Linked DNA regions of Homo sapiens: all the other regions are linked to region 1. The links are contacts of gene promoters, found by promoter capture Hi-C in human tissues and cell types (Jung and others, 2019). All regions are on one chromosome and are shown on one strand. Each heading gives the region's core, a stretch centred on a gene start or on the middle of the fragment in contact. The rest is flanking DNA. Distances are from core to core; before and after follow the strand shown.

Region 1 (5,666 bases), core at 1,791-4,290:
CATGTTTGGACTCAGCCCTGTGTTTTGGGCCCAACTCTTACTGGCTGTGTAATCACAGGCAAGTTAACTAGCCTCTCTGAGCCTCAGTTTCCTCATCTATTAGATGATGACAATCATAATACCCTCTTCCCTCAGCACAGTGTTAAGGCACATGAAAACCGTAGTGCTGGTCAATGTTATTACTATTATTATGAACAAGAAAAAAATCGGAGGGGGCAGGGGCACCCTACTCAGGAAAATAAAAGAGGTAAGTCCCAGAGGAGAACATGAAGGAAGAGGAGAGATGCGAATCCCTCCAAGAGATTATCTTAGCACCTATCCACTAAGCACGTACTTACCGTGTGAAAAGGAGTTGTCAAACCAAAATGAAACTTAGTTATTATCTCAAAGGGGAAGAAAAGTCTTGTCCACAATTAATTCCCATCCAAGGCCAAACACAAAAGGACCATAAGTGGCCTACTAAGTGTTCTGCAAATCCAGAAAAGAAAGGAGAGTTCACTCCTGACTGAGGGCTCAGAAAGGCTTTAGAGAGGAAGCTGTGAAAGATGGCCAGGAGAGAGGGGACAGGTCATAGATGAGCAATAAAGATCCTCCACCCACAGCCATCCAGACAAACCTCAGTCACACTGGCAACCCCCCTGCCCCTTAGAGCCTGCCAACCATTGAAGAAGGCCAAATGCAACTGAAAATCAAGAGCAGAAAAACCTTATAGGGAGGTGAGAGTTATGCCTGGCTCCATGCACCCCGTTACTTCCAACACCCTTTCCCAACCAAACGTTTACACCCATGGTCCTAGCAAATCTCACTGGCAATTTGTCTTCTTCACAATCTAGTAGGCTATTGCTTTCTGTGGATGGGACAGTATCTAGTCCAACAGACTAAAAATTACAAATGGGTGGGGACCTCACCAGCTTTCCCCGAATTCCATTTCCCTTAGCCCCTGTTGTGGCTGATTTCTGTGTGCATTGTCTACGACTGAGCTACCCAAACCACCTCCGCATGCCCACTCCCCAAGGACAGGGCCTGGGTGGGGCACAAAACCCTGTCCAGCTCACTACTCCCAGGAGGCTCACTATCTAGTACACCATCACCAACCCTGTACTTAGAACCTCAGGCCCTGAAAGGTTAAGGGGACAACTCAGAATCAGAGCTGCCTGGCAAATACAGAACAGCCCCAGGAGAAAAAGTTTGATTGAAAAGGTCAGAGATGGCAGCCCAGTAACCCAGCCAATCAGAGGGCAAATGAAAGCAATATACCTCTGGGGTCATCGAGCAGGTGGCCAGAACACCAGGCCAGAGCCAACCCCCACCAAAAAGGGCCAGCCCCAGGAGAGGAGAAGCTGGGGGAGGCTGGAACTGGTATCCTAGCATCCTATGTGTGAGTCTGTACCTCAAAGGAACCACACCTCTGAGTCAGACCTCAGCAACAGCAGGAAACAGAGGGTAGAAAAAGGCACGGATGAGGAGCAGGGGAAGGCAGCACCGAGGTAGATGAGGAAGGTGAAAGAAGGCAACATTAAGAACTGGCCTGTGGGCCAGGCACGGTGGCTCACACCTGTAATCCCAGCACTTTGGGAGGCCGAGGGGGTCAGATCACCTGAGGTCAGGAGTTCAAGACCAGCCTGATCAACATGGAGAAACCCCGTCTCTACTAAAAATACAAAATTAGCCGGATGTGGTGGCGCATGCCTGTAATTCCAGCTACTTGGGAGGCTGAGGCAGGAGAATCGCTTGAAGCTAGAAGGCAGAGGTTGTGGTGAGCCGAGATCGCGCCATTGCACTCCAGCCTGGGCAACAAGAGCAAAATTCCATCTCAAAAAAAAAAAAAAAAAAAGAAATGGCCTGTGTCAGGACATCATGATAAAGACATGGGTGTTCAGGGGTGGCTGGCCTGCAGGCTAAGAAGGAACAATAATCTGACAGTGAGGACAAATTCCCAATTTGAAGATGGTGTAGCTTAGGAAAGGCAGAAATCCAGCACTGGTGCGAAAAGAAAAAAAAAAAGGAAAAATGCAAAGGTTATCCTAGGATTAAGAATAAGGGTGAGGAGCCTACTCAGATTAGGAAAGGTGACTGGTCTAGGATGCACTTGGGTGACAGTTAGGAGGGCTTTGATACAAAAGAGGCCTTTAAGTCAGGAGACCTGATATTGCAGCTGGGCCTCCAGCAGGCTGTGTGACCTTGGACAAGTCCCTTGCCCTGTCGGGGCCTCAGTCTCCTCATCTGTACCATTAGGGATTGCACTGCATGCGCTCAGAGGTCCCTTCCAGCACCAACGTTGTGAGGTTCCATCAACAGAAGGGCTCAGTCCTGCTTACAAGTTTGTGTGTGAAGGAAGAACTAGAGGGAGGGGCCTAGGCCAGATTTGGGTGGAGGAGAGAGAAAGCAGCGCTGTTCTAGGTCAGGGGCTTGGCATGGAAAGAGAAGGGGCCGTAGGGGACTGCGGGGCGGCTGTCCCAGGCGGGTAGGAAGAGGAGACAAGGGGCTGCTCAGGGCGGGGCGAGGGGGCAATTCTGGAGGAAGGTGCAGTTTCAGATGAGGGGCTGCCCAAACCGAAGGGGGATCGGGGCCAGGGGTGATGGGGGGGACAGAAAAAGCAGGACAGTGACCTGGGAATGGGGCAGATCTGGAAGAAGGAGGTTACCCTGGGCCGGGGGTAAGAGAAGGGAAGAAGGGAGGGAGGTGTATGTGGGGGGAGTCTCTCCGGGGCAAGGTGGGGGAGCTGTCCTAGCTGCGGCACAAGCTGGGGGTGCTGCCAGCCGCGGGGGCGGAGGGCTGGCCCCAGGAGTCCTGCGGGGGCTGGACGGGAGGGTCAGTCTGGGGCTGTCCCGGGCCTGGCTCCGGCCCCTCCCAGAGCTCCGCGCAGGCTCCAAGGCGGCGGTGGGGGAAAAAGGGCCACGCTCACCTTCTCCTTTTTCAGTTTATAGGGCATCTCGGCCCGTCCGGACCCGGCCCGTCTCCTGCGGCCCCGCTCCGGCTCCGGCTTTGCTCGGCCGCACTCGGCCCGCTCGGCGTCTCTTCGCCACCGCCTGCGCGCTGCGCCCGGGTCGAGCGGTGCCTGCGCCTCCAATTGGCCCGAACTCCTACAAAACTGCCTGACAACCAGGCGCCGCCTCCTCGGATTGGTCATTGGAGCCAAGCTGCTTCCTTTTTTTCTTATTGGAAAGAAATAGTACAAACCGCCAGGGTTCGGCTTCCAGAATTGGCTGAAGTGGGTGGTCCCGCCCTAAAGTGGGTCGAGCTTAGAGAAGGAGGCGGGGATAAGGGGAAACCCAAGCTTGGCTAGGAGGGCTGCACTCCAGCGTCTGCTGTGCGTCGGCCTCGGCCATTCTTCGCGGCGCTTGGAGCCCTGCTCTTTCCTTCTAAAGGCTCTCACACTTTGCCCGCTCTGCTACCCTGTCCAGTCGGAATTGGAGGAAGGAAGCCCTAATACGGAGGGCACCTTTCTTCACTGGGGTAAAGTAGCCCTAATTGCAGATGCAAAATTGATGGAGGGAGCTCCCAAGGACCTTCCAAGACACCCGCCTCCCTAGACAGGGGTTGCAGAGGAGCAAAGGGGAAGCCTGGCAGGGCTAGGACCTGGGCGAAATGAGTGGAGAATCCCTGGCTTGGTGCAACTTTAGGAAGAGGGTCCCCGTTGCTACTGCAAGTGTACTGGGATTGGGGAACCAGCTAGATTTGAGCAGTTGGGAACGCAGTGGAAAAGCAACTTCATTGTTGACTGTCTCAGGAAATCCATCCCTTACTTGCCACCCTGCTCAAGTCCGTGTTCTAATGGGTAAGACTCAGTTTATGCCCACAAAGAGTTCGCAGTCTGGTGAATCACAGATGTGTATAAACAAAGGATTAAGAGAGAATGTAAACCAGGCAGGCACGGTGTCTCACGCCTGTAATCCCAACACTTTGGGAGGCTGAGGCAGGAGGATCACCTGAGGTCAGAGGTTCGAGACCAGCCTGGCCAACATGGCGAAACCCCGTCTCTATTAAAAATACAAAAATTAGCTGGGTGTGGTGGTGCACGCCTGTAATCCCAGCTACTCGGGAGGCTGAGGCAGGAGAATCACTTGAACCCGGGAGACGGAGGTTGCAGTGAGCCGAGATCACACCACTGCACTCCAGCCTGGGCGACAGAGCAAGACTCTGTCTCAAAACAGCAACAATGACGACAAAAAGAATAAACCTGTGGCCAGGCTCGGTGGCTCACGCCTGTAGTCCCAACACTTTGGGAGACCAAAGTGGGCAGATCACGAGGTCAGGAGTTTGAGACCAGCCTGACCATAGTGGTGAAACCCCATTTCTACTAAAAATACAAAAATTAGACAGGGTGCGGTGGCTCACGCCTGTAATCCCAGCACTTTGGGAGGCCGAGGTGGGCGGATCACGAGTCAAGAGATCGAGGCCATCCCGGCCAACATGGTGAAACCATGCCTCTATGAAAAATACAAAAATTAGCGGGGCGTGGTGGCGCGCGCCTGTAGTCCCAGCTACTCGGGAGACTGAAGCAGGAGAATCACTTGAACCCGGTAGGAGGCTGAGGCAGGAGAATTACTTGACCCCGGTAGGTGGAGGTTGCAGTGAGCCGAGATCATGCCACTGCGCTCCAGCCTGGGCGACAGAGCAAGACTCCGTCTACAAAAAAAAAAGAAGAAACCTGTGATGCAAAGGCATGAGAATGATACAATGGAGGCCGGGCGCGGTGGCTCACGCCCGTAATCCCAGCACTTTAGGAGGCCGAGGCGGGCGGATCACGAGGTCAGGAGATCGAGACCATCCTGGATAACACGATGAAACCCCGTCTCTACTAAAATAATACAAAAAAATAGCCGGGCGTGGTGGCAGGCGCCTGTAGTCCCAGCTACCCGGGAGGCTGAGGCAGGAGAATGGCGTGAACCCGGGAGGCAGAGGTTGCAGTGAGCCTAGATCATGCCACTGCACTCCAGCCTGGGCGACAGAGCAAGACTCCGTCTCAAAAAAAAAAAAAAATACTACACATTGGGTACAGTATACACTGCTTGGGTGATGGCTGCATCAAAATCTCATAAATCACCACTAAAGAACTTATTCATGTACAAAAAATAAATTTTTAAAATTCTATATAAAATAAAATATTTAGTCTTAAAAAAAAAAAAGGTCAGGCGCAGTGGCTCACGCCTGTAATCCCAGCACTTTGGGAGACTGAGGAGGGCGGATCACCTGAGGTCAGGAGTTCAGGACCAGCCTGGCCAACATGGCAAAACCCCGTCTCTACAAAAATACAAAAATTAGCCAGGCATGACGGTGGGTGCCTGTAATCCCAGCTACTCAGGAGGCTGAGGCAGGATAATCCATTGAACCCGGGAGGTGGAGTTTGCAGTGAGCCGAGATCGCACCATTGCATTCCAGCCTGGGCGACAGGGCAAGACTCCATCTGAAAAAAAAAAAAAAAAACACAAAACCTGTGTCCCTTACCCAGGTACCCAGGAGAGCAATGTTACAAGACAGTGGCCGTGGGGATGGAGAAGAGAGGATGGAGCATGAAAATGTGTAGAATCAACAGGATATGGTGATTCATTGTATTGTGGGGGGGACGGTAACGGAAAGGGAAGAGTTGAGGATGATTTCTGGAAGTGATCAGAGTTGTAGGAGGACAACTGGTGTCATAATGGCAAAGGAAATAAAAGACAATT
Region 2 (5,666 bases), core at 940-3,439, 470 kb before region 1:
AAAAACAAACAAACAACAACAAAAAACAAGTTATAGATGTTCATTGTTTAAAAAAAAAAAAAAAGGGGCGGGCGCGGTGGCTCACGCCTGTAATCCCAGCACTTTGGGAGGTCGAGGCGGGCGGATCACGAGGTCAGGAAATCAAGACCATCCTGGCTACCATGGTGAAACCCCGTCTTTACTAAAAATACAAAAAAAAATTAGCCGGGCGGGGTGGTGGGCGCCTGTAGTCCCAGCTACTTGGGACGTTGAGGCAGGAGAATGGCGTGAACCTGGGAGGCGGAGCTTGCAGAGAGCCGAGATAGCGCCACTGCACTCCAGCTTGGGCCACAAAGCGAGACTCCGTCTCAAAAAAAAAAAAAAAAAAAAAAAAAAAAGTGTTAATGCTGAAAAGTATTAATAAGAAAAAAAAAAAAACCTCTATAATTCGATCATCCAGAGAAAAGCACTGCCAATGTCAAAGTACGTTCTTCTTTGTTTCCGGCTTCCCCCCACCGCACTTTACATATTCTTAGCTTTTTTGGACATCTTTAGACGTCAAAAAAAAAAAAAAGTATTTTTAACAGTCACATAGTGTTGATGTGCCATAATTTATTTGCCTACAGTAATTTTTGAATTATAGGTTGTTTGCAATTTTTCACCAAAAAAAAAAATGTGTTTAAACAAAATGAATGGTACAGCCATGTCATTACTCAAATTCAGAGAGCTCTTCAGGGAAGAGGCGATCACAGCTGAGAGGAGGCCAGCTAGGGAGCTGAGTGGGTGTAAGTGTTATATCCAATGGAGACTGCAGGAAAAATGAGCCCTGGGGCTCTGTGCCTGTGGAGGTGGCTGTGTGAAGGTGGGAAGCTGCTCTGCCCCGACTAGCGACTGCTCCTTCCGATGTTTTGAATTTAAAGATGGTGAAATCTCAATCTGAAGGACTAGAGATGGGCGCTAGCGTTCCTGACCTCTGCCCTGTTGTCCTGCACAAACTAGAAATTATGTTCTGGGTCCTTGTCTTTTTTTGGGGGGGGGCGGGGGTCGGAGTTTTGCTCTGTCCCCCAAGCTGGAGTGCAGTGGCGCGATCTTGGCTAACTGCAACGTCTGCCTCCCGGGTTTTCAAGCGATTTTCCTGCCTCAGCCTTCCGAGTAGCTGGGATTACAGGCGCGCACCACCACGCCTGGCTAATTTCTGTATTTTTAATAGAGACGGGTTTCACCATGTTGGCCAGGCTGGTCTCGAACTCCTGACCTCAGGTGATCCGCCCGCCTCAGCCTCCCAAAGTGCTGGAATTATAGGCGTGAGCCCACCGAGCTTGGCTGGGTCCTTGTCTTGAAATGTGTCTCTGAGCCATTAGCCAGAAGGGGGCAAAGAGGCCTGGAGGGCAGCTTTCCCCCACTCCCCCTCCGTTACTCTCTGAATCTGAGCTCCAGGTTTGGGCAGTTGAGGTTTAGCCTGAGGCCAAGGACGAACGTGATGGGGTACAGGAGAAGACTTGGCGGTGGAGGGGGTTTTGTGTGCACATTTACAGAGTCAGGGGCATTCCCAGTCCAGAAAGGATTCTCAGAGGCAGTCACAAAAAGGAATGGGGTGGAAGGGCTGAGACTTGAGGGAGGGAAGGGTGGTGGGGGTAGGGCCGGGGTGTGGTTGGGTGGATCGGGTTGATATTTATATAGGGATAGGTTGATCTTGGAAGGCTGGAGACGGCAACGTGGACAGGAAGAAGCGGAGGGCGAGGAGGAGCAGAGGAGCACACAGATGAAGCAGGTGATGAAGGCTTTACAAGCGGGGAGGCGTGGGCTGGTGACAGGCGGAGGGCGGGGAGCGATTGCCTGCGTGTGCATAGATCTATATGAGAAGCGTGATGAGCGGCGGACAAGCGAAGGCAGGGCTGGGGCGTGGGCCGCGGAGCGCTGGTCGGGAAAGTGGGCATGGGAGATGAGAGAATAACGGGGTTGCGCTCCTTTGGCTTAATAGTTTGCTCCCATTGAGACTCCTAAGATTTCCTCCTCTCTTGGAAGGAAGCTGGGTTCGGGGCGTTGGGTAGCCGCGGAGGGCCGGGGCCCCGGGGCGCGCCGGGTGCTAGGTGTGCGCCGTGCGTCGCGGGGGGGGGGATGGGGGTGGGGGCGGGCTCCGCCCCTGGCAGGGGGCCTGAGCGCGCGCGAGGAGCAGCCGCTGCCGCCGCTCGGGGTCGCCTGGAGCCCCAGATTCCCGAGCGCTCGGCTCGCATGGCAGCCGCTTCGGCGCCCGGCCCCGCGGCCAGCTAGGGGCGGCCCCGCGCTCCCTCACGGCCCCTCGGCGGCGCCCGTCGGATCCGGCCTCTCTCTGCGCCCCGGGGCGCGCCACCTCCCCGCCGGAGGTGAGGACTGCGGGGACAGGGCGCGGTGGGGATTCCAGGCCCCGCGCCGCCGCCGAACCCAGCGCGGCGGAGATAGAAAGGGGACGTGGGAGAGAGTGGTGGTGGCGGGGGGGGGGGCTGTCGGAGCTGTGGGGCGGAGACTGCTCGCTGCCGGGAACCGTCCTTCCCTCCGGCCCCCGCGTCCCCTCCGTGCTCGAGGCCGCCTCTCGGCGCTGTCCCCATCCCGCGGACCCCTCCGTCCTGACTACGATCCCAACCCCAGCCATTCCCGCGCCTGGCCTCGCTCCGCGATGCCCATCTTTCCCCTCCTTGCAGACCCCGCTCCCGGGTTCCTGTCTTCGCTCTCCTCGCTCTCTTCGCCTGCTCAACCCTTCCCTGCCCCCATCCTCCCGCTACCCCCATCCCCTTCTTCTGTCCCGGCGCCCCTCTCCCTCGTCGGCTCCTGTCACTTGGAACCCGTATCCGTGCCGCTATCTCCGCGTCCGGCCGCCTCCCAACCGGTGCCGTCCCACAGGTGTCCACGCGTCCGGCCGTCCATCCGTCCGTCCCTCCTGGGGCCGGCGCTGACCATGCCCAGCGGCTGCCGCTGCCTGCATCTCGTGTGCCTGTTGTGCATTCTGGGGGCTCCCGGTCAGCCTGTCCGAGGTGAGCGCGCCCGCTGGGCTCCAGTCGCGGCCCTGTCCAGCCGTCCTCGCTTGCACGTTGACCTCTGCCGGCCGGAGGCGGCACTGCAGTCGCTCCGACCCGCGGGGCAAGCAAGACCGAGGTTGCCTTTTTGGAATGGGATGAGTTTCTGTGTTATGTCCTGCCCTAGGGTTGAGTCCGCTCAGTTACTGGAACCCCAATCCTCTCCTGAGTCCCGCATCCCAGCGAGCTGTGCCCTGACTCAGACTCACCCCTCCCACATCAATCTCTTGCAGCCGATGACTGCAGCTCCCACTGTGACCTGGCCCACGGCTGCTGTGCACCTGACGGCTCCTGCAGGTACCTGTCCTGAGCACGTGCCCCCAAACCCTTTGGTACCCATTTCTAAGCCCTTCACGTGCACAACAGTGTCTAGGGGCTTCAGACTCTACTCTTCATGCCTCATCACTCCTATGGCTGACTGGCCAGTCCCCCTTTCCCCTTTACCTCACCTCTCTTGCTTCTTCTAGTTTTTATCTCCCCACTTCTTTAATCTCCCAAGTCTGATCCAGGGATTGTCTGAACTCCTGACAGGGAGAGAGACCTAAAGCTTGAGAGAGCTTGGGGATTGGGTGCCATGAGGAAATGGAAAGATAAAGGAAAAAGGGAAAGAGAAATGGTTTAGCCTGGAAAAGAAATGCTGCAGGGAGAGTTGCTGGGGAGAAACACTTACAATGAAAGAGGATCTTTCTTGATGAGTTTGAGTAGTTGACTCACTGGGAGATTGGGCAAATTCTGTAGCAGGAGGAAAGTGGACATAAGGAAATGAGTTGATGAGGCAGGTAGTTCAATTGGCTGGGGGTCTTTGAGACTCTTCACCCCTGGAGGGCTTTTAAAATATGGGTCAAGTGTTTGCCCTGGAATCATGGTGGGAGGATAGTCCTGATGACCTTTTTTGTTTTTATTTTTATTTTTTGTTTTTGAGACAGAGTCTCGCTTTGTTGCCAAGGCTGGAGTGCAGTGGCGCGATCTCAGCTCACTGCAGCCTCTGCCTCTTGTGTTCAAGTTCCCCTGCCTCAGCCTCCTCAATAATGGATTACAGATGCACACCACCATGCCCGGGTAATTTTTTGTATTTTTTGTAGAGACGGGGTTTCACCCAGTTGGCCAGGCTGGTCTTGAACTCCTGACCTCAAGTGATCCACCTGCCTCGACCTCCCAAAGTGCTGGGATTACAGGCGTGAGCAACCACGCCCCGGCCCTGATGGCCTTTCAAGGTCATTCTTCTTTAAATGTTTGTGAGCACCTCAGACATGCCAGGAGGGGTACTGGAGGCATTTACAGACATCTTATTTCTTCCTCTACTCAACCCTGCAAGGTGTATCCCCAATTTACAGGTGAGAAAACTGAGGCTCAGGTTAAAGTACAGAACCAGGGTTTGAGTGCTGGTGTCTGATGGTCTGATTCCGTATATGTGTCCTATGACCCTGCACAGTCCTACACCTACCTGGGACAGGTCTGCTTTCCCTTAGGGGCTGTCATATGTCCTCTTGGTTTCTAGAAGCTCTGGTTCTGTCTCCTCCATTTCTTCACATCCATGACCCAGAGCCCTGACCCTGTGCTTCTCCCCGTCAGGTGTGACCCGGGCTGGGAGGGGCTGCACTGTGAGCGCTGTGTGAGGATGCCTGGCTGCCAGCACGGTACCTGCCACCAGCCATGGCAGTGCATCTGCCACAGTGGCTGGGCAGGCAAGTTCTGTGACAAAGGTAGGGGGGAGGAAGGGTAGCTTTTGGTTGGGAACCCCATGTTCTTAGGGGAACAGCCATCAGTATTTATTGAGTGCCTATTTTGTCCTTGTCAAACCCTCAAATACATGGTATTTTATCATTTTTTTAAATCTTAGACTTTTTATATGTTGTCTGAATTGATCCTCAACATAACCCCATGGGGCAGGAAACACAGCTGCTAAAAATTGTACTCATTTTACAGATGAGGAAACTAAGGCCCACAGAAGAGCTATAACCTGCTCAAAGTCAGGTTTTTTTGTTTGTTTTGTTTTGAGATGGAGTCTCACTCTGTCACCCAGGCTGGAGTGCAGTGGTGCGATCTCGGCTCACTGTAACCTCCGCCTCCTGGGTTCAAGTGATTCTCGTGCCTCAGCCTCCCCAGTAGCTGGAATTACAGGCACCCGCCACTTCAGCTAATTTTTGTATTTTTAGTAGAGATAGGGTTTCACCATGTTGGCCAGGCTGGTCTCGAACTCCTGACCTCAAGTGATCCACCCGCCTTGGCCTCCCAAAGTGCTGGAATTATAGGCATGAGCCACTGTACCGGCCTAATGTTTGTATTTTTAGTAGAGATGGGGTTTTGCCATGTTGGCCAGGCTGGTCTTGAACTCCTGACCTCAAGTCATCTGCCCACCTTGGTCTTCCAAAGTGCTGGGATTACAGGCATGAGCCACAGTACCCAGCCCAAGGTCAGTTTGAGACAGACTGAGAGCCAGGGCCAGGAGCCTCCTGACTCCAAATTCAGTGTTGTTGTCTCTCCCTAGCATACCACGCCAGCCTGGGCTGGGTTTGTAGTATAGCCACACCTACAGAACCTGGGGCCTGGAAGGCGTGGACAAGTCTGGTCTGGGGACCAGATGGGAGGGGTTATCCCAGAGCCTTTCCTGTCCCCTCTCCAGATGAACATATCTGT
Region 3 (5,666 bases), core at 1,060-3,559, 390 kb before region 1:
ATATTGCTGTTAGATTTATTTTTATTTCATTTTATTTATTTTTATTTTGTTATTTTTTTTTTTGAGACAGGGTCTCACTCTTGCCCAGGCTGTAGTGTAGTGGTGCTATCATAGCTTGCTGCAGCCTTGAACTCCTGGGCTCAAGTGATCCTCCTGCCTCAGCCTCCCAAGTAGCTATGACTACAGGCATGCACCACCACACCTGGCTATTTTGTTGTTGTTGTTGTTTAGTACAGATGGAGTTTTGTTATATTGCCCAGGCTGGTCTCGAACTCCTGAGCTGAAGCGATCCCCCTACTTCGGCCTCCCAAAGTGTTGGGATTAAAGGCATGAGCCATTGTGCCTGGCCAGTATTTATTTGTTTTTTAATAAGCTGGTAAGATGTACATTCGTGTTTTGTGTGATTACGGTATTATGATTATAATACCATATTATTATAGTAATATAATACTATATATTAGTATATAGTATGTACTAGTTATAAAATAGAAACCATGGTGATCTGGGGGACCAGACAAAAAGCATTTGGATGTGAAACATCCACATATGAATTAACTGCCTGCATTCAGGGTTTCTCCAAATTCAAGGTTAAAAAGGGTTATTAGTGCCTCATAGAATAAAGGTAGGGGCTATACCAAAAGCAATTTTTATTCTCTAGGGTTGTGTATTAGCTATCTGCATAGCAAATTACTCCCAGGTTGGCAGCCTAAAACAAGCACTTTTATCTCACAGTTTCTGAGGATGAGGACTATGGAAGTGATTTGCTAGATGGTCCTGGCTCAGGGTCTCTCAAGAAGATGCACTCAAGATATTGGCTTGGGCCGCAGTCATCTGAAGGCTTGATATACTTGAGTATCTGCTTGTGAGATGACTCACCCACATGGCTGTTGCCTGGAGGCCTCAATTCCTTGCTTCTGTTGTCAGGAGACCTCAGTTTCTCACTACATGGGGTTTTCCATAGGGTTGCTCAACATGGCAGGTGTTTTCCCCCAAAATCATATGATCCCAGAGAGAGAAAGTGTGCTCAAAATGGAAGCCACAATGGCTTTAATAACCTAATCTTGGACATGATACATATCACCTCTGTCATATTCTATTGGTCACACAGACCAACCTTTGTACAATATGGGAGGAGCCCATACCAGGGAGTGAATACCAAGAGACAGGGATCATTAGGGGCCATTTTGGTGGCTGACTAGCATATCTGAGAAACAAATTGCTTGTTAGCACACAGATAGTGCTATTCAAGCTTCACATTTCTTAGGATACAGGTTTGTCTTCTGTCTCTAGCTCTTTTAATTGTGAAAAATTACATGTATACATAAAAGTATATAAAAATAAATGTACAGAATGGGTGTGGTGGCTCACGCCTGCAATCCTAGCACTTTGGGAGGCCGAGGTGGGCGGATGACCTGAGGTCAGGAGTTCAAGACCAGCCTGGCCAACATGGTGAAACCCTGTCTCTACTAAAACTACAAAAATTAGCCAGGTGTGGTGGCACATGCCTGTAATCCCAGCTACTCAGGAGGGTGAGGCAGGAGAAGCACTTGAACCCAGGAGGCAGAGGCTGCAGTGAGCCGAGATCGTACCATTGCACTCCAGCCTGAGCTACAGAGCAAGACTCCATCTCTAAATAAATAAATAAATAAATAAATAAATAAATAAATAAATGTACAGCTAACTGAATTATTAAAAAGCTAGTATCTGTGGAAAAACAACCACCCAGATTAATATATGGAACGAGCTCAATACCCCAGAAGCTCCTCCCATTGTTCTGTCTAATTACAATGCCCTCTCTTCCATCCTCAGGGTGACCACCATGCTGATTTTTATGGTTTTTAGCTTCATTTTCTTTATAGTGGTTTACCACTAAGAATGCACTCCTATCCACTGTAGTTTAGTTTTGACAATTTAGCCGGGTATGGTGGTAATCCCAGCACTTTGGGAGGCTGAGGCAGGAGGACTGCTTGAGGCCAGGAGTTCAACACCAGTCTAGGCAACATAGTTAACCCTGTCTTGAAAAAAAAAAAGAAAAAAGAAAAAAAATTATCCGAGTACGATAACACATGCCTGTAGTCCTACCTACTTGGAGGTTGAGGCAGGAGGATCCCTTGAGTCAAAGAGTTTGGGACTGCAGTGAACCATGATTGGGACACATCACTCTAGACTGGGTGACAGAGAGAGACCCTGTCTCAAAACAAAACCAAAACAAAACAAAAAAGCTATATAAATGGAATTATGCAATGTATTGTTTTGCATCTATTTTCTTTAACTCAACATTATGTTTTTCAGATTCATTTATGTTGTTGAGTGAAGCAGTCTGTTAATTTTCAATGCTGAATAGTATGCCATTGTATAAACATCCCCAAATTTATTCATTTTACTGTTGTAGAATATGTGGACTTTTTTTAGTATTTGGCAATTACAGAGAAAGCTGCTGTGAACGTTCTTGTACGTAACTGCTGGTATACCTTGTATGCATTTCTGTAGGATATATACTTAGGAACAAAATTGTGTAGTCATTTTCAACTTTAGTAGAAATGCCAACCTGTTTTCCAGAGTGGTGGCACTGATTTACACAGTGTAGAAGAATGTCCCTTGTTCTACACCCTCACCAATATCTGCAATGTTAACTATGTTGGTGTGAAGTGCTATTTTGTTATGGTTTTAATTTACATTTTCACGATTGAGGTTTCATATATTTAGTAATCATTTGAATATCCTCTTTTGAGCACTTTTTTTTTTTTTTTTTTTTGAGATGGAATCTTGTTCTGTCACTGAGGCTGGAGTGCAGTGGCACGATCTCGGCTCACTGCAATCTCCACCTCCCGGGTTCAAGTGATTCTCCTGCCTTAGCCTCCTAAGTAGCTGGGATTACAGGCACCCACCACCACCCCTGGCCAATTTTTTGGTATTTTTTAGTAGAGATGGGGTTTCACCATGTTGGTCAGGCTGGTCTCGAACTCCTGACCTCAAGTGATCCACCTGTCTCAGCCTCTCATAGTGCTGGGATTACAGACGTGAGCCACTGCGCCTGGCCAGAGCTTTTTTTTTTTTGTTTTTTGAGACAGAGGTTATGGATGTAATAGTGATACATGCATGATTGAATCCACCATGTTTAACAGAAAATCATATTTTCTCTCTTCTTCCTTTTCCAGAGACAGGGTCTTGCTTTGTTGTCCAGGCTAACCTCGGGCTCCTGGGCTCAGGTGAAAACTCCTGCCTTAGTCTCCTGAGTAGCTGGGATTATAGGTACCTGCCACTGTGTCCAGCAGAAAAATCATATTTTCTTTTCTTTTTTTGAGGTGGAGTCTCACTGTGTCACCCAGGCTGGAATGCAGTGGCAAGATCTCGACTCACTGCAACCTCCGCCTCCCAGATTCAAGCGATTCTCCTGCCTCAGCCTCCTGAGTAGCTGGGACTACAAGCGTGCTAAGGTAGCCAGACTACCATGCCCAGCTAATTTTTGTATTTTTAGTAGAGACAGAGTTTCACTATGTTGGCCAGGCTAGTCTTGAACTCCTGACCTCAAGTGATCCGCCTGCCTCGGCCTCCCACAGTGTTGGGATTACAGGTGTGAACCACTGCGCCTGGCCAGACTCATATTTTCTTTCTTTCCTTTTTTTTTTGAGATAGAGTCTCCTTTGTCACCCAGGCTGGAGTGTAGTGGTGTGATCTCGGCTCACTGAAAACTCTGCCTCCCGGGTTCAAGCTATTCTCCTGCCTTAGCCTCCTGAGTAGCTGGGATTACAGGCACCCGCCACCATGCCTGGCTAATTTTTTTATTTTTAGTAGAGATGGGGTTTCGCCATGTTGACCAGGCTGGTCTCGAACTCCCGACCTCAGGTGATCTGCCTGCCTCAGCCTCCCAGAGTGCTGGCATTAACAGGCATGAGCCACCACAGCTGGCCTCAGAATCGTATTTTCTAATTAGTTATTACTGGTGTATAGGTAATATTGGTAATATTAGGATATTACCATTCCAGTCACTGAGCAGGGAGTGTCTAGGCTCAGTTCTTGTTTAAAGGCTGTCAATATTTTTATCTTCCCACCCACATGGCACATTCCCATGAAACTTAGCCCCAAGCAGAAGGCTGGCAGTAATTTGTTCAGCTCGCATGTAGGGACAGGCATGTCCTTGGCTTTAAGCTAAAAATCTGTCCCAGGTCCTCCACCTCCTGAGGAGCACTTACATTTCCATTATCTCACAGGAGCCAAATCTCTAACTGCTACCCTTGATTCTAGACTCATTTCAAAGCCCATGAGGTCCATGGGGAGGTGGTTATCTCGTTTCAGAGTGTATTAGCTGTTTTGAGCTGCTGTAACAAAATACCGTAAGGCTGGGTGGCTTCAACAACACGTGCTTATTTCTTACAGTTCTAGAGGCTGGAATGTCCAAGACCAAGGTGCTAGCCAATTTAGTTCCTGGTGAGTGCTCTCTTCCTGGTTTGTAGACACTGCCTTCTCACTGTGTGCTTGCATAGCAGAGAGAGGGCATGGGTGTCTCTTCCTCTCTTTATAAAGACACTATCATCATGGGGGCCCTACCCTCATGACCTCATCTGACCCTAATTACCTCCCAAAGGACTCTTCTCCAAATAGCATCACATTGGGGGTTAGGGCTTTAACAAATGAATTTGGAGTAGTGGTGGGGGAAACACAATTCAGTCCATAGCATACATCCTAGTCTCCTTACTTTTCTCTTTTAAGGTTTTATATGTCATTGCGGTATGTCTACTATGGGGTGGTATGTGTGTATGTGTGAAAGCCTTTACACATTTCACCATCTTCATCAGAAGTCTCATAAAAATTTCTTGAATTGATGACAGACAACAGGGACGGTACGTTAACTGGGTTCTTCCTATTGTCTCTGGAGTTTCAGCAAAGGCCTCAAAAATAGAAGGCAATACAACAGATGCCAGGTACTCCCATTCCCCCATCTTAAAGGGTGATGATAGAATATGAACTAGTCTGCCAGCATTACTAATCATCCACCCTCAGTCTATATAAGAGAATGAAGATTGTGTCGGACAGTTACCTGTGGGCTCTGTATTTCCTCTCCTGCCACTCTGGGGCGGGAGAGGGGAGCCAAGTGAGATAAAGCCTTCTACTAGAACCTCTTAGAATGTTTGGCTTGTGTCTCCTGGAGTTTGGAGATCCACAGGGATAGTGTCTTAACCCCTACCTGGGGGAAGTCCAAAAGCAAGATGCTGGCTAACTGTGCTGGGATGGTGAATAAGGTGGGAGCCATGGGGAGTGAGCTGCACTGCCTTCGCCACTGGGGCAAAGATGCATGAGTTATCCTGTGAGCCAAGTGGACACACAAGCTAACGAACTTGGAGTCATTTAAAAGAGATCCTTCCCAGGCCGCGTGCGGTGGCTCATGCCACCTTCCCAGCACTTTGGGAGGCCGAGGCGGGCGGATCACGAGGTCAGCAGATCGCGACCATCCTGGCTTACACGGTGAAACCTCGTCTCCACTAAAAAAAATACAAAAAAATTAGCTGGGCATGGTGGCGGGTGCCTATAGTCCCAGCTACTCGGGAGGCTGAGGCAGGAGAATGGCGTGAGCCCAGGAAGCGAAGCTTGCAGTGAGCGGAGATCGAGCCACTGCACTCCAGCCTGGGCGACTGAGCGAGACTCTGTCTCAAAAAAAAAAAAAAAAA
Region 4 (5,666 bases), core at 1,249-3,748, 370 kb after region 1:
CCCAAATAGGCAGTAACAGCTACTAAGCTCCCAAGATGTCATTGTATGCTGGTGGAGCTAAACCACAGCAGCATTACACTGTTTCTGATGAAATCAGACTTTCATTACTTCTGCATCATATCAGAATCATCTGATGACTCTTCCAAAGCATACATGCTTGGGCCGCCATTCTTGGTGAATCTGTTTCAGTAGATTTGAGAATGGAACACAACACATGTATTTTGAAAGAGCTCTCCAAGTGATTCTCATATACTTCGTAATTCAGGTGAATGCAAAAAAATAAGTGGTTAGCTTATGCACATGCTGCTAAAAGGGAGAACTTAACTATATTAATAACCTAGAGTTCTGAAGAGACCTTGTTTCTTAAAAAAAAAAAAAGCAAAATACATGTTTTCCTTAGCATGAAATATTTGCAATCTATTTATAAAATCAAAGTTTTCTAAATATAATTTTCTAACAAAATATACAGGCTATTTAATTTGGATCATGCCCCCCCTCCAAAAAAAAATCTATTTTTTTTTAAAGACTAAGACTGCAATGCTAATTTTAAAATGCACAAATATATTTATTAAATCATATTCATATATATGTCATTTAAACTGAGATTAGTTTCCTTATATGAATTTTAATAGAAAAAAATACCATAATTCACAATGGCATAGGTTTAAACTCTTCATTTATTATTTCATAAACATTGTATAATAGATACTCATGTTATAGGAGGTGATGAACAAGGAGTCTCACGGCTAAAATTTTATTCTATTGATAAAGAATGAAAAGATTATTTATGAAGTTTCTTAGAATTTAATATCAACACATTGACATATTACTATTAGATGTTAATTTTTTGAAGCCTAGATATAATTATGGGCATAGTTACTCTATATATAACCTATTTTCAAAATTGAAAAGCCACTTACTTTTGCAAATCGAACAGCAAATAGTTTCTTGTATTTCAAATCCATAAGCAGACTGCTCATGAACAACTGATGATATACACTCCTAGCACCTTGTAGAAAAAGATCACGGTATAAGATAAGGACACGCCCAACAATTACATTTCTCAAGTGTTATGTGATCCACAGTGGGTTTTTTTTGTTTTGTTTTGTTTTTACTTTTGAGACAGTGTCTTGCTGTGTTGCCCAGGCTGGTCTTAACTCCTGGGCTCACGCGATCCTCCTGCCTTGGCCTCCCACAGTGCTGGCATTACAAATGTGAACCACCATGCCCAGCCAACACAGCATTTTTTTTTTTTTTTAGGGTCTTGCTTTGTTGCCCAGGCTGAACTCAAACTCCTAGCTCAAGTGATCCTCTTGCCTCAGCCTCCTGTGTAGCTGAGACTACAGGCACACACCACTGAGACTGGCTTGTATTTTAAGTCTCAAAAACAAAGAAAGCCATACATGGTGGTATGTACATGTAGTCCCAGCTACTAGGGAGGCTGAGAAGGGAGGATTGCTTGAGTCCAAGAGTTGGAGGCTGCAGTGATCAATGATCATGCCACTGCACTCCTGTTGCCTGGGCAACAGAGTGAGATCCTGTCCCTTCAAAAAAGGAGCAAAATACATATTTTCCTTAGCACAAAATATTTGCAATTTGTTTATAAAACCAAGTTTTCTAAACATAATTCTGTAACAAAATATAAAGTCCATTTAAGTTGGATCATGGACCCCACCCCACCAAATCTATATTTTTCAAAGACTAAGACTGCAATGCTAATTTTAAGAAGCACAAATATATGTATTAAATATCTTCCCAAATGATAAAAACCTTTCACATCCCAATTACTTATATAGGTTCCTCTACACCTTAAAAGTAGTTAAGAGATTCACCTTTCCATAATTTGGAATCACTAAGCATCAGTCTGTCCACTAGAGAAGAGTTTTCACCATCTGGCCCTTCTTGTAAACCAACTTGACATAAAATCCGGCGAAGGCCATCTTTAAATAGAAGGAAAGGTAGAATGAGATAGCAACTTCAAATATTAAAATAGTGACATTTTAGTAGATGTTCAAATGGATCTGTAGAGTTTTAAATGTTTTCTTAAAGTTCAAATTTATTCAGAAAAGGCAAACATATTAACTGTTTTATTAATATTTTAACAAAAAGGAAATAAATTTCAAATCTCACATCACACACCATTACTCCTGAAAGTCAAAATATATGCCTATCATAAAGGCAATAACCTCTTGTGCTTTAATGAATTTAATTAAAGAGAAAAACATCCAAAAAACCACTTAATATTGTTCTTCAAGCACTTATGCTAATTAAACCAGATTACAGTGAAAGTGTTATACATTCCATAATTGAAATATAAAATGTGCTACCATTTAAAAGGAGGAATGCATGACTTCTGCATTATAATATATAGCAATGCATTTTATTAATGCTACAGAAAAAATTCTTCATTCATTAAACAAAAACTTATTGTGGACTTGGCATGTGAGACCCTGGAAAACATATTACTACAACCTTTTAAATGTAAACTTCAGAAACGTTCTTCAAATATTAATATAAGCATTAAAATAACCAAAGCTTTAACACTTATTTGTTCCATACATATATATGTACGTACATACATATATATGTACGTACGTACATACATACGTATGTATGTACGTACATACATATATACACACATACACACATATATACACACATACATACACACATACACATATACACATATATACATACCCATATACGCACATATATGTACATGCATACATATATATGTACGTGTGTGTGTATATATATGTGCGCGCGTGTGTGTGTGTGTGTGTGTGTGTGTGTATATATATATAGTTTTTTTTTTTTTTTTTTTTTTTTTTTTGGAGACAGAGTCTTACTCTGTCACCCAGGCTGCAGTGCGGTGATGTGATCTTGGCTCACTGCAACCTCTGCCTCCTGGGTTCACGCAATTCCTGTGCCTCAGCCTCCCAAGTACCTGGGATTACAGGCATGCACCACCACGCCTGGCTAATTTTTGTATTTTTAGTACAGACGGGGTTTCACACCATGTTGGCCAGGCTGGTCTTGAACTCTTGGGCTCAAGTGACCCACTTGCCTTAGCCTCTCAAAGTGCTGGGATTACCAGCATGAGCCACTGCACCTGGCCCCATACTTCATAATTTAAATCACTGTTTTCATCTTTTTCAAGCATGCAAAATTAAAAAAAAAATGGAATAACTTTCAATTATAAAAGCTGTCAAACAGAAATCCTTTAAAAGGCTAAAGACCTATGTAAGTATTAAATAGCAATATATAAATTATTAATGATTAATATCTCAAAGAAAATTTTCAGCAGGACATTACTTCCATTATACTCTTCAGTAATACTGTAGCACAACACTTGGCATGCAGGTATCCAATGGAAAACACCAAAATAAAGAACATAGGACTAAGAAAAATAACTGTAAAGATATTTATTTTCTTTTAAAAAAAATTTTAGATAGAGATGGGGTCTCCCTATATTACCCAGGCTGGTCTATGAACTCCTGGGCTCGAGGGATCGTCCCACCACAGCCTCCCAGAGTGTTATGACTAGAGGAGTGGGCCACCGTGTCAGCCTGGAAAGATAACTTTTAAATTATCTTTTAAAGTAAACGCGTTCTCTTAATCTTCCACACCTTCATATTTTCAACTCTCAGTTCTGTGTAGTAATGCTCTTTTCTAAAAGCCCTTCAATACAAATGTATTCAAATTTTTCTTTACAGTAAACATCTGAATGTCACTTATCCACAGTGTTGCCTGAAGAATAGCATAACAGCTTATATCTATCCCTGTTTTACCCTTTAGTGTTACACACCAGGCTTGTATTTTTGGTTGCAGATGTGAGGATTCTTAATTCTTACCATTACATAAAGAGAAAAATGACCGAATTTCTAGACTCTGGAATTTTTTTTTTTTTGAAACAGAGTTTCACTCTTTTGCCCAGGCTGGAGCAAAGTGGCGTGATGTTGGCTCACTGCAACCTCTGCTTCCTGGGTTCAAGTGATTCTCCTGCCTCAGCCTCCTGAGTAGCTGGGATTACAGGAACATGCCACCACGCCTGGCTAATTTTTGTATTTTTAGTAGAGATGAGGTTTTGCCATGTTGGTCAGGCTGGTCTTGAACTCCTGACCTCAGGTTATCCACCCACCTTGGCCTCCCAAAGTGCTAGGATTACAGGCATGAGCCATGGCACCTGGCCAAAAATTTTTTAAAAACGCAAATTGGTAACTTCCAATTTACAAATTTTCAGTGTTGCAAATTATTGGTAACCAAAGTTGTTGGAGTCAAATCACATAAATCAACATTAGTGTTTTATCGTTTAAACAGCTAATCACTTAGGTTTTTATTTACAGCAGCATTTTTCCAGCTTACTCAGTAGAAGAGTTCTGCAAAATGCTCCACTAAAAAAAGTTTAAAAAAAAATTGTTTGTGAAATGTACATTGCATTGCATTAGCATATTAATGTCCTTTACAATTGTTTAAACCAATGTTTCCTGAATTTATTTGAATAGAGAATCCTTTGTGTGCATATAAAAAATATCCAGTATGACCAAATTTGTTAAACATAGGTTTTCTTCTATGCATAAAGATATTTTGAAATGGTATTTTAAAATGTAAAATTAAAGCAGGAAATTATTCCAGTTGATAGTTTTCCCAAAACAGTTTTGCAACAGCATATTGAGCTCATTTTTAATAGACAATTGGCATGAACTTTTATGAACCTACCTGAATATCCAATAATACTTCCCAGCCAAGACAAAAGTTTCAAACCAAAATTCTGATGTGCGACAATAGACGAATGCATAACTTGAACTTTGAGTGGCTTTGTCTGTCTACTGGTATTTCTCTTAAAAAGAAATGGCAAGATTTAAAAATTAACTTAAAAAGCTATTCTATTGGCAGAACAAAGTTATTATTTTTACTTAATATAACCACACTATCATCATCATAGGAGACTTTTTCATGGATGTAAGAAAAACACCATTCTCCTTGCCTTACTTGATTCAGATCCTAATTTTCTAGAGGAAATCTTAGGATTCATACAAAAAAATACGAAGGTTCAGCTAGTTTATGAGTAATCTGAATCTTTTTTTTTTTTTTTTCTTTTTTTGAGGTGGAGTCTCGCTCTGTCACCCAGGCTGGAGTGCAGTGGAGCAATCTCGGCTCACCGCAACCTCCACCTCTTGGGTCCAAGTGATTCTTCTGCCCTCAGCCTCCCAAGGAGCTGGGACTACAGACATGCGCCACGACGCCTGGCTAACTGTTGTATTTTTAGTAGAGACAGGGTTTCACTATGTTAGCCAGGCTGGTCTTGAACTCCTGACCTCAAGTGATCCACCTGCCTCAGTCTCCCAAAGCACTGGGATTACAGGTGTGAGCCACTGCGCCTGACCAGTAATCTGAATCTTTAGTCCTATATTTGAAAATCTGCTGTACCAATAATAAATGATTTAAATGTTTTAGCTTGCTTTATGTCTTTAATTTCTCAATATAATTATGTACTTATTTAAATAATTTATTGCATAGATGTGATGTTATCAACTTTTTTTTTTTTTTTGAGATGGAGTCTAGCTCTGTCACCAGGCTGGAGTGCAGTAGCACAATCTCTGCTCACTGTAACCTCTGCCTCCCAGTTTCAAGCAATTCTCCTGCCTCAGCTTCCCGAGTAGCTG

Evidence for each region. Contacts are between HindIII fragments. The study calls those that stand out against the background at their distance.
Region 2: the fragment with the promoter of DLK2 here is called in contact with the fragment with the promoter of PPP2R5D in region 1 in 1 of the 25 tissues and cell types used here (IMR-90 fibroblasts).
Region 3: a fragment that was not itself captured here is called in contact with the fragment with the promoter of PPP2R5D in region 1 in 1 of the 25 tissues and cell types used here (pancreas).
Region 4: a fragment that was not itself captured here is called in contact with the fragment with the promoter of PPP2R5D in region 1 in 1 of the 25 tissues and cell types used here (stomach).

Annotation. Positions count from the first base shown.
Region 1 is chr6:42,981,944-42,987,609 of GRCh38, reverse strand. PPP2R5D (protein phosphatase 2 regulatory subunit B'delta) reads right to left here and starts at 3,040. Exons shown (of 16, transcript NM_006245.4): 1 at 2,906-3,040. The coding sequence starts at 2,932. LOC124900215 (a long non-coding RNA gene) reads left to right here and starts at 3,296. Exons shown (of 2, transcript XR_007059580.1): 1 at 3,296-3,778. RefSeq lists silencers at 2,682-2,831, 2,922-2,991 and an enhancer at 3,142-3,261. The HindIII fragment of the contact is 19,136 bases long and covers 1-4,598 here.
Region 2 is chr6:43,452,071-43,457,736 of GRCh38, reverse strand. DLK2 (delta like non-canonical Notch ligand 2) reads left to right here and starts at 2,189. Exons shown (of 6, transcript NM_023932.4): 1 at 2,189-2,342; 2 at 2,857-2,987; 3 at 3,263-3,326; 4 at 4,602-4,732; 5 at 5,653-5,666. The coding sequence starts at 2,912. RefSeq lists enhancers at 691-1,532, 3,161-3,210 and silencers at 2,131-2,370, 2,471-2,520, 2,551-2,630. The HindIII fragment of the contact is 12,339 bases long and covers 1-5,666 here.
Region 3 is chr6:43,372,097-43,377,762 of GRCh38, reverse strand. No RefSeq gene overlaps it. Among named protein-coding and RNA genes, the nearest start is that of ZNF318, 5.3 kb to the right of the region's middle. RefSeq lists an enhancer at 863-1,082. The HindIII fragment of the contact is 7,073 bases long and covers 1-5,666 here.
Region 4 is chr6:42,611,345-42,617,010 of GRCh38, reverse strand. It overlaps UBR2 (ubiquitin protein ligase E3 component n-recognin 2), which reads right to left. Exons shown (of 47, transcript NM_001363705.2): 8 at 4,720-4,840; 9 at 1,833-1,940; 10 at 921-1,009. Among named protein-coding and RNA genes, the nearest start is that of UBR2, 50 kb to the right of the region's middle. The HindIII fragment of the contact is 5,356 bases long and covers 1-5,176 here.